Linked DNA regions of Homo sapiens: regions 1 and 3 are each linked to region 2. Evidence: promoter capture Hi-C in 16 types of primary human blood cells and fetal thymus (Javierre and others, 2016). All regions are on one chromosome and are shown on one strand. Each heading gives the region's core, a stretch centred on a gene start or on the middle of the fragment in contact. The rest is flanking DNA. Distances are from core to core; before and after follow the strand shown. Region 1 overlaps LOC105369309 (a long non-coding RNA gene). Region 2 holds the start of APLNR (apelin receptor). Region 3 overlaps LOC105369309 (a long non-coding RNA gene).

The links. The method cuts DNA at HindIII sites, captures the fragments that hold promoters and counts their contacts. A CHiCAGO score of 5 or more calls a contact.
Region 1: a fragment that was not itself captured here is called in contact with the fragment with the promoter of APLNR in region 2 in 4 of 17 cell types (M0 macrophages, M2 macrophages, M1 macrophages and 1 more); the score reaches 8.6 in M0 macrophages.
Region 3: a fragment that was not itself captured here is called in contact with the fragment with the promoter of APLNR in region 2 in 3 of 17 cell types (endothelial precursors, M0 macrophages and M2 macrophages); the score reaches 7.4 in endothelial precursors.

The regions. Positions count from the first base shown.
Region 1 is chr11:57,109,509-57,113,139 of GRCh38, forward strand. All of the region lies in intron 6 of LOC105369309 (a long non-coding RNA gene), which reads right to left. Among named protein-coding and RNA genes, the nearest start is that of LRRC55, 71 kb to the right of the region's middle. The HindIII fragment of the contact is 569 bases long and covers 1,653-2,221 here.
Region 2 is chr11:57,236,000-57,239,796 of GRCh38, forward strand. APLNR (apelin receptor) reads right to left here and starts at 1,251. Exons shown (of 1, transcript NM_005161.6): 1 at 1-1,251. The coding sequence starts at 1,005. RefSeq lists an enhancer at 893-1,525. The HindIII fragment of the contact is 5,179 bases long and covers 1-3,797 here.
Region 3 is chr11:57,132,077-57,135,833 of GRCh38, forward strand. All of the region lies in intron 6 of LOC105369309 (a long non-coding RNA gene), which reads right to left. Among named protein-coding and RNA genes, the nearest start is that of LRRC55, 48 kb to the right of the region's middle. The HindIII fragment of the contact is 1,163 bases long and covers 816-1,978 here.

The DNA of each region.
Region 1 (3,631 bases), core at 687-3,186, 130 kb before region 2:
CAAGGCCTAAAACTTTGTATTTCTAACAAGTTCCCAGGTAATGCTATTACTGCTTGTCAGGGACCATACTTTGAGAACACCGGCATACTGCAATTTTGCCCCACGATGTGGCTAATGTTTTTTTTTTAATATAAAACAAAAATCAGAGAGTTACTTCTCTGTTAATAATCTTGGACAGATCCAGAGATCTGTAATCTTCAGGATTGGGCTGACCCTGGTCAGTCTTTCCAGCATCCTTTCCCCTCCTTCCTGAACTCCCTGTGCTGGGCTATTCACACAGTACCCTGGCTGTGCCAGGTTTTCCTGGCTTCCCCTGATGTCTTTGTGCCAGGTTCTCCTGGCGTCCCCTGATGTCTTTGCACATGCTGTGACCTCCTTCTGGAAGGTCCTCCTTCTACCATGTTCAGCAGAGTCCAAGTTATCATTTATCAGCTTTGGTATCACTCCCTTTATGGGACCTTTCCTGGCGCTAGGCAGAATTGGGTCTCCCTCTTCTATCTCCCAATAGTGTGTTAGCACTTAGCGGAGTTTCCTAATAACTGTTTTCTTGTCAATCTTCCTCATTATATTTGGACCTCCTTTAGGAGAGGGCTTTTTAAATTATTCTTAATTTATTTCCTTTACTTTGCTCCTAACTGAATGGTAAAGATCTCTAGAGACTTTTTTTTTACTTGCAGGAACACTGTTAGTTGTCCCAATAGTTGGTGGGAGACTACTAGTATTTAGGGAGCAGAGATTACTAAAGCCACAGCATGGTATCTCACAGGCAAGAATAGTCAACATCAACCATGATTTTCAAATATCCCATCGGATATCATGTAAGTGGAAACCTTGTTTATGATTAACTGAACATAGAACCTAACTCTGTGTTACAAAAAAACAAAGTATTTTTGCACAATTTGAACATACAATGGGTTACCTGAATTGCAACTACCACATAAATGGAGGAAAGGTCAGACTTTGTTTTGCTGGGAAATTTAACCAGAAACTTTTACCATTTGGAGAAATCACATAACCAAAAGCAACACTCTCATTGTAGTTGAGTCTTTAACACATGGAAATCATCATGTCAATCTGCATTTGTAGCTGATACATTCGTGATAACATGCAGATGCAAACATCTAACTACAACAGCAGCTGCACTTAGCATTTAAATGTTACTTATTTTTTAAGTTATTTTCCTTTTACTTTTACTTTTCTTTAGAGTTAGAATGATATATTATCTCTTAAAAGTACATTTGCAGGTATGTTATGCTATCTGTAAATTTTATTTCAAGACAGTAGTTAATTATAAATTGTTATGGAGGGAGTCGGTATACAAAGCTGTCACTATCATTCCATAAAATAAAATCCAGATTCCCTGACATGGCATTTGAAATCTTTTACAATTTTGTTCTAGAGCATTTTTCCAATCTCCATTCCAACCTTCTCCCACCTTCCCTTCTCCAGCCACACAGAGTTTCCACCTTCTCTTGTGCACACCATGTTCTCACTCTTTGCACATCTGGACTTCCTCAATCTGGAGTTTTCTTGTCCCCTTCTATTGACTTCCCACTGGGTTTTTTTAAAGCCCTGCTCAACATAATTGCTAGTTTGCCTGCCTTCCTCTCACATCAGTCTATAGTCTCCTCAAGGATAGTATGTTGGCTGAAAGCTTTGGCTTTGATGTAAGCCAACTGGGTTCAAATCCACCTCTGAAACACTCTAGTTGGGTGATCTTGACTTTGGGCAAGCTAACTAACCTTGCTAAAACTCAGTATTTTCTTTTACAGAATAAAGGCAATAATACTTACCTCTCAAGGAGTTTGAAAGAATTAAATGAAATACTGCCTCTACAGCACCTAGCAGAGTACCTATCCCTTAGTAAATGCTCAATAAGTAGTAATTATTGCCATAGTTATTATTCATTCCTTACATTTATCATATTACATAAAACATAGTGGATGGGCAATAAATGCTTGATGAATACATTCATTTGATTCTAATATATACTACTCATCTGAAAAAAAACCATTGGAGACATACCTAACCTCAGAGAAAGTCGTTGAGTGTGATATTGGAGCAGAGTGTTTTCCTGAAGTCTCTTCAGTAACATCATGTGGACAATTATTCCAACCAAGCTCAACCTGTGCCTCTTGACAATTTATAATTAATCCGGATGACCCAGATCCCAGATGAAGGGAAATAGTCAGAAAAATAGAGATAGTTGCTCTTTTATGCAAGCTTATGTTCCAGAATATAGATAATCCCTTTAAACAGGAATTTTTAGACTGTGTAGGAAGACATGCCTCATACTTTGCTCCAATTTAAAACAAGCACTGGGATTGGAGTGGAGCCAAGGACTCTGACATTAATGGAGGAAGAAATGAGCAGGCTCATTTCCCTGTAGAAATAGACAGAGGGAGAAGTCGATGTTCTTTACACTGATAACAACCCAAAAGGAGAATTGAGAAAGGAGAGTGCATTCAATCACAAAAACAGCCAGAGAGATGTCCCTATCCCCATGCCCACTAGCAATTACCAGGGCAAGATTGGTTCTGTTTCTGTACCCCTATAGTTCTGCAATAGAACTGAAGTATGTATTTGGATTACAAGTTTTTTCACTCAATTACCTGTAACTGCCAACTGAAATTTGGTGTTATTTAAATAACTTTTGTGTTATTTTGACCTAGAATTACAGAAACTTAAAAAGGTCAAATTTTATAGTTAAAAGAGTCGTGAGGGATCATTTCTTTCTGTTACTGTCTTTATGTTTAAATGTCATCTAAGCAACATTTTCTACAGTAACCACTACAAGTTTATTAAGAATGGATTTTGGGGGAAACCCATTTGGAAACTGATTAATTTTTCAGATGTCCTATCTCAGCACTTCAGTTGATTGACAACACATAGTGCAGTTGTCAAGCTACGTTAGACCAAAAGACCTCATGCAGGCAGTTTTGGTTTTCTATTAAAATGTAATTTATAATAGGTATTATTTAGCTGTGCTTTTTATTTGCAAGGTATAAAGCATTACAGTTGACCCTTGAACAATACAGGTTTGAATTGCCCCAGTCCACTTGTAAGCAGACTTTTTCCAATAAAATTTATACTTAATGTGCCTGCCTCTCCTGCCTCCCCTTCCCCTTTCTCCACCTCTTCTGCCTCCTCCGAAACAGCAAGATCAACCCTTTCTCTTCCTCCTCCTCAGCCTACTCAACATGAAGACAATGAGGATGAAGAACTCTATGATAATCCACTTCCACAATGAATAGTAAATATATTTTCTCTGCCTTATGATTTTCCTAATAATATTTTCTTTTCTCTGGCTTACTTTATTGTAAGAATACAGTATATAATACATATAACATCCAAAATATGTGTTAATCAATTGTTTGTTACCAGTAAGTCTTCCTGTCAACAGTTGGCTATTAGTAGTTACATTTTTAGGGGTTTAAATTCATAAGCATATTTTTGCCTAAACAGGGGTCAGCATTCCTAACCCTCACATTGTTCAAGAGTCGACTGTATTTTGTGGCCAGGTTCTGTGGTTCACGCCTGCAATCCCAGCACTTTGGGAGGCCAAGACGGGTGGATCACTTGAGGTCAGGAGTTCAAGACCATCCTGGCCAACATGGTGAAACCCTGTCTC
Region 2 (3,797 bases), core at 1-2,500:
GGAGGTGCCTGCGCACCTGCTCTGGCCACAGCAGAGCATGGAGGTGCAGGCCTGGCGGAAGCGGGGGTCGAAAAAGGCATAGAGGAAGGGGTTGAGGCAGCTGTTGACGTAGCTGATGCAGGTGCAGTAGGGGAAGATGTTCATGAGGAAGAGGTCAAAGTCACAGGGCCAGTGCAGCAGGCTGCCCAGCATGTACAGCGTCTTCACCAGGTGGTAGGGCATCCAGCACAGGGCAAAGGTCACCACCAGCACCACGATGATGCTGAGCAGCCGGCGCCGCTTCCGCAGGCCCTCGATGCGTTCCTTGCGGAAGTGGCCAGCGATGGTTTGGGCGATGAAGAAGTAACAGGTCAGCATGATGGTGAAGGGCACCACAAAGCCCACGGTGGTGGACGAGACCCCAAGGCCCACCTCCCAGGCCCACTCTGAGCTCACAGTGGCCACCATGGAGTAGTCCATGTAGCACTGCACCTTAGTGGTGTTCTCCAAGTCCCCGGTGGTGCGTAACACCATGACAGGCATGGCCAGGAGGGCGGCCAGCACCCAAAGAACTGCCGTGGCCACGGCCCCGCTGACCCGCAGCCTCAGCCGAGCATTGGCCACTGGCCTCACGATGGCCAGGTAGCGGTCGAAGCTGAGGCCGGTGAGGCAGAAGACGCTGGCGTACATGTTGACGAAGATGAGGTAGCTGCTGAGCTTGCAGAAGAAGGTCCCAAAGGGCCAGTCATAGTCCCGGTACGTGTAGGTAGCCCACAGGGGCAGCGTCACCACGAAGGTCAGGTCAGCCACCGCCAGGCTAGCAATGAAGATATCAGCTGAGCGCCTCTTCTCCCGGCTGCTCCGAAACACGGTCCAGAGCACCAGACCGTTGCCCGTGGTGCCCAGGAGGAAGACCAACATGTAGATGGCAGGGATGAGGGCCCCCGAGGATTTCCAGTCTGTGTACTCACACTCAGACTGGTTGTCTGCCCCATAGTAGTTGTCAAAATCACCACCTTCCTCCATGCTGGGGAGTGGAGAGAAGACGGGCAGAGGGTCCCAGGGACACCAGCTCCGTGGCTCTGTCACCCACTCTGCAAGCAGCCTGAATTTCTGGCTTGAGCCTCAGAGAGTAAGAAGGGCTGAAGATGCCCAGAGTCCTTCCCAGCACTCAGGAGGAGCTGCCTCTGGGTTCTCCAGACCCTGGAGGAAGCCTGTCTCCTGCAGAATTTCCTCCACCCTCTCTTGCCTTACCCCCGTCTCAGTTAAGACACTTCCTTGCACCCTCCTGCGTCCCTGTCTCCTCCTTGACTCGTCACTCCCTCCTCCCACCTCCAGACCAGCCCCTCTCTTGTGAGTCAAAATCTTTAGTGACAGCCCACTTTTTTTTTCTTTTTGTCACTGAGCAAGTGGACCAAATTGACCCCTACTGTGCTGGGCTGAACATTATCTGTGGTTTTGCAAGTCGGCTTTCCTGGCCCCGCCTCTCCTTTCTGGCTGCCACCCACCTTCACCCCAGCCCCTATCCCTCCACTTTCCTCTGGCCACCACTTCCTGCCTGCCCTTTAGGGCACTCCCTCCTCAGTGCTCTCCGCCCTCCTGTTCTCACCCCCTTCCATCCAATCTAAATGGGACACATTATGCAGATTGCAATCCAGCTTGAGCTGGAGCCAGGGCTGGTAGGGAGCAAGGAGGGTGTAAGATTTCGCAGGATGGGCAGGGCATCTGGCAGGTCCTCCTGGCAGGCAGGTCTGGCCCCCTCGGCTCCCTTCCTGCACCCCCAGCCCCCACCCAGACCAGGTGTCACAGGAGGGTCTTCTCCCACTTTGCCTCTCGCTTCATCTTTCTCTACCCCTTGGCTTTGACCCTCCCTCTGAGAACTTTTGTGGTTTCTAGAGAAATACCCCTACACTAGTGTAGACTGCAGTTTGCAGTTTGCGGAAGGCACAGGATGCTTTAGAAGGTTGAGGGCAGTCACAGGATGGAAGAAACCCAGGACAAAATTATCTCTAAACAAGTCATTAAATCTGTAGGAAACAAAGGCCCAACAAGGTCAATGTTTTGCCCAAGGTAATAAAGTGAATTATGCTACAGTTGATTGTTTGCTTTTCTTCTTCTCCAAACACGAACATAATACAGTACCTGGCATGTCGTAGGTGAATGGCTGTTTTGTTTGTTTGTTTGTTTGTTGAGACAGAGTTTCACTCTTGTTGCCCAGGCTGGTCTAGGCTCACTGCAACTTCTGCCTCCTGGGTTCAAGCGATTCTCCCGCCTCAGCCTCCCTAGTAGCTGGGATTGCAGGCTAATTTTTTTGTATTTTTAGTAGAGATGGGGATTGACCAGGCTAGTCTCAAACTCCTGACCTCAGATGATCCACCCACCTCGGCCTCCCAAAGTGCTGAAATTACAGGCATGAGCCACCACGCCCAGCCAGGTGAATGGCTGTTGAGTGAGTAAGTGGATGGATGATGTAGGAGGTGAGTGAAAAGGGGAATCCATAGATGGAAGAACAAGTGTAAGAATTACTACGTGGTGAGAACATGGATACATTTCAGTTCTCAGGTTTTTACTATCCTCCATGGACCAAGAGGTTTCTGTAAGACCACAGGGGGTCAGGAAGTTGAGCTAGAGGAGGGGGGTCTCTAGAGAAAGACTCAGTCACTGGAGGATACTGTGGGGAAAGTTCCGTAGACGCTCACTTTGCCCCAGCTCATCACCTCTCCAGGACCTCTAGGAAGGAAGGAAGATGCACGACGTAAGATTTTTTTTAAAAAATACGCACCCTTTCCACAACCTTGAAGAGTTGGGGAAGCCACCTGACGTTGGGTAATAGTGAGATGGAACAAAAGCAGGAGCTGAGCCTTAGCCACTTCCAAGGCAAAAGACTTACAAAAGCTGGAATTGGCCAGGCAAGGTGGCTCATGCCTATAATCCCAGCACTTTGGGAGGCCAAGGCAGGAAGACTGCTTGAGCCCAGGAGTTCAAGACTAGCCTGAATAACACAGCCAAGACCCTGTCTCACGATATATATTTGTCTTAAGTTACTACAAAAGCTGGAATCCATTTTCTGGAGGGAGAGTGGATCAGAAAATCATATGCAGAGATCAAGGAACTCAAACTCAAATACCTGCAAAAAAAAAAAAAAAAAACAGGCCAAGAGTGTAGTTTGAGACAACAGAGAATGGTAAAGACTGTGGCAAACTGGAGGGTGCCCATTCCATCATAGGGAGGCCTCTTCAGCTCTAGTCTCTGGTTGCCACGCAGAAAGCTGGACCCCAGCATGACTGTGTCTTAGGATTTTTCCAAGATAATTTCAAATTATGGATTTTTGTAAGAAATTTTCATATTTGTAAATTTTGGAAATCAATTTTCATTTCAAAAAAAAGCACAGACCATGATAAGTAAAACATGTCTTTGGCCCCCGAGTTTGTGTTCTTTAAACAGGAGCTTGCCAAGAATAGAAGGCAGGAGAAGAACCAAGAGGATGGGGCAGGAGGAGGAAACAAAAAATGCAAAGATAGAAAAAGCCTTAGAGTGCAGTGGGGAGATACAGGAGAGAAGGCTGCAGAGAGAGATTAGAAAGATCCTGTGACCTTCACCTAAATGCAATGTGGAGTAATGAATATGTTGGTGTTTCTCATGAGGACTACATGTTGCCCACTTATTGTGTGCCAGGCAGTCTTCTAAACATTTTATACATTCTACATATATTTATTAGTATCTCTTTTAATCATCAAAATGACATTAGGAGGCAGGTGCTCTCATTAGCCTCAATTTACAGATGAGGAAACTGAGGCACACAGAGGTGAAGCAGTTTA
Region 3 (3,757 bases), core at 147-2,646, 100 kb before region 2:
TTTCACTTTGCTTTATTGTACCTCATAGATATCACATTTTTAAGAATTAAAGATTTGTGACAGTTAGTCAAGTTGTGAATGCAAAAGAAAAGTTCTTAGCCAGACATGGTGGTCCATGCCTGTAGTCCTAGCAACTTGGGAGGCTGAAGCAAGAGGATCTCTTGAGCCCAGGAGTTTGAGGCTGCCATGAGTTATAATCACACCACTGCACTCCAGCCTGGGCAACAGAATGAGACCCCATGTCTAAAAAAGAAAAGGAAAAAAAAAAGTTCTCAGAAGAAATTAAAAGTTGCTTCCTGATCAGGATAGTGGTTGCTAAAGGTTGGGGTGGCTGTGGCAATTTCTTAAAATAAGACAACAATGACTGGGCACAGTGCCTCAGGCCTGTAATCCCAGCACTTTGGGAGGCTGAGGTGGGTGGATCACGAGGTCAGGAGCTCGAGACCAGCCTGACCAACATAGTGAAACGCTCTGTCTACTAAAAATACAAAAATTAGCTGGGCATGGTGGCACGCACCTGTAATCCCAGCTACTCAGGAGGCTGAGACAGGATAATCACTTGAACCCAGGAGGCGGAGGTTGCAGTGAGCCGAGATTACACCACTGTACTCCAGCCTGGGTGACAGAGCAATACTCCATCTCAAAAAAAAAAAGACAACAATGGAGTTTCCCATATCAATTATATCAATTGACTTTCGTTTTCACAAAGATTTCTCTGTAGTATGGGATGCTGTTTGATAGCATTTTACCCGCAGTCAAACTTCTTTCAAAATTGGAGTCAATCCTCTAAAAATCTGCCACTGCTTTAATAACTAAGCTTATGTAATATTTCAATCCTTTGTGATCATTTCAACAATGTTCACAGCATCTTCACCAAGAGTATATTCCAACTCAAAAACTCACTTTTTTGGCCAGGCGAGATGGCTCGTGCCTGTAATCCTAATACTCTGGGAGGCCAAGATGGGCAGATCACCTGAGGTCAGGAGTTTGAGACCAGCCTGGCCAACATGTGAAACCCCATCTCTACTGAAAATACAAAAATTAGCCGGGCTTGGTGGTGGTGCATGCCTGTAGTCCCAGCTACTCAGGAGGCTGAGGCAGGAGAATTGCTTGAACCCAGGAAGCAGAGGTTGCAGTGAGCTGAGATCACACCACTGCACTCCAGCCTGGATGACAGAGCATGACACTGTCTCAAAGAAAAAAAAAAAAAAAAACTCACTTTTTTATTCTTCTGAAAGAAGCAACTCTTCATCCATTCAAATATTATCATAAGATTGCAGCAATTCAGTCACATCTTCAGGCTCCACTTTCACTTCTAGTTCTCTTACTATTTCCACCAAATCTGCAGTTGTTTCCTCCACTAACATCTTGAACCCCTCGAAGGAAACTATGACAGTTGGAATCAGCTTCTTCCAAATTACGGCTAATGTTGATATTTTGATCTCCTCTCATGAATATGAATATTTTTAATGCCATCTGGAAGGATGAATCTTTTTAGAAGGTTTTCAATTTACTTTGCCCAGACCCGCCAGGGGAATCACTATGAATGGCTGCTATAGCCATACATAATATATGTCTTAAATAATAAGCCTTGAGAGTCAAAATTACCCCTGGATTCATGCACTGCACAGTGAACATTGTGTTACTGGGCTTGAAAACAAGATTAATTGCCCTGTACATTTCCATTAGAGCTCTTGAGTGTCTAGGTGTATTGTCAGTGAGCAGTAATATTTTGAAAGGAGTCTTTATTCTGAGCAATAGGTCTCAACAGTATGACTAAGATATCTAATAAACCATGCTATAGACAGATGTGCTGTCATCTAGGCTTTGCAGTTTCATTTATGTACAGCACAAGCAGAGTTGGTTTAGCATATTTCTTAAGGGCCTTAGGATTTTTAGAATAGTAAATGAGCACTGGCTTCAACTTAAAATCACCAGCTGCAGTAGCCACTAACAGCAGAGTCCACCTGTTCTTTGAAGCTTTGTAGCCAGCCGTTGACTTCTCCTCTATAACTATAAAAGTCCTAAATAGCATCTCTTCCATTAAAAGGCTGTTTGATCTACATGGAAAATTTGTAAATTTAGTGTAGCCACCTTCATCAATTATCTTATCTAGATTTTTTAATAATTTGCTGTAGCTTCTGTATCAGCATTTGCTACTTCACAGTGTATTTTTATGTTACGGAGATAACTTCTTTCCTTAAACCTATGAACAAATCTCTGCTAACTTCAAACTTTTCTTCTGCAGTTTCCTCACCTCTCTCAGCTTTCACAGAATGGAAGAGACTTGCTCTGGATTAGGCTTTGGCTTGAGGTAGTATTGTGTGGCTAGTTTGATCTTCTATCCAGACCACAAAAACTTCCTCCACATCAGTAATAAGGCTGTTTTGCTTCCTTATGATTCGTGTGGTCACTGGAATAGCACTTTTAACTTCCTTCAAGGACTTTTTTTTTTTTTTTTTTTTTGCATTCACAACTTGGCCAACTGTTTGGTATGACAGGCCTAGCTTTCAGCATATCTCAGCTTTTGACATTAGTGAAAGCTTTGGACATTCATGAAAGACATTAGTGAGCCTTGCTCACTAAGCTTAATCATTTCTACCTTTGATATAGAGTAAGAGACGTACAACTCTTCCTTTCACTTGAACACTTAGAGGCCCTTGCAGGGTTACTAATTGGCCTCATTTCAACTTTGTTGTGTCTCAGGGACTAGGGAGGTCCAAGGAGAGGAAGAGAGATGTTGAATGGCCAGTCAGTGGTGTAATCAAAACACTCACGACTTGTATGGATTAGTGTTGTATACGGGCATGGTTTGTGGTGCTCCAAAACAATTACAGTAATAACATCAATGATCACTGATCACAGATCACCGTAACAGATAAACAATAACGAAAAAGTTTGAAATATTGAATTACCAAAATTTGACAGAGACACACAGTAAACACATGCTGTTGAGAAAATGCCACCAATAGACTCGCTTGATGCAGGGTTACCACAATCCTTCTATTTGTAATGAAAACACAATATCTGAGAGGCATAATAAAGCGAAGCGCAATGAAAGAAGGTATACTTGTATGTCAGTAATAGCATAGAAGATGGGTTTAGATAAGTGCTGTCTTTCTGTTGTAAGATTCTTGCATTTCACAGGAAGTGATGCAATATTAGTTAAAGGTAGACTTGATAAATTAAGAATATGTATATTGCCTGGAGCAGCACTAAAAAAATACAAAAAAAATAGTTAAAAAGTCAATAGAGAAATTAAAATGGACAGCTACAAAATATTTGATTATCCCAAAGAAGGCAGGAAAGGAGGGAAAGAGGGACAAATAAACACATGATACAGAAAGCAGTCAAATACCAGTAAAGTATATTGAGAAACTGACAATATTATTAATTATTCTAAATGTAATAATATTGGGACTAAAGCCTCCAATTAGGCAGGAGAGACTTCTGGTTTGGCAAAATGAAGAGGTCAGCAAATCTTCTCCCCAAAAAGCAACTATATATACTAAAATCAAAACTGTCAAAAACAATGATTCAGAGCTCTGAAAATCAAACAGAGCCATACAGCAAATAAAGTTTGTATTCATGAAAAACTGCTAAATTTGGGATAAGAACTGCAGGAGTTTGTGGTATTCAAGCTTCAGACTGAAGCTGCTTTCATCCTCCCCATCCCCATCCAGCTTGGTCGGCAGGGTAGTTCTAGCCCAATGGGACTGGCTGTGAAAACCAGCAACTTGCTGCAGAGAGGACTCAC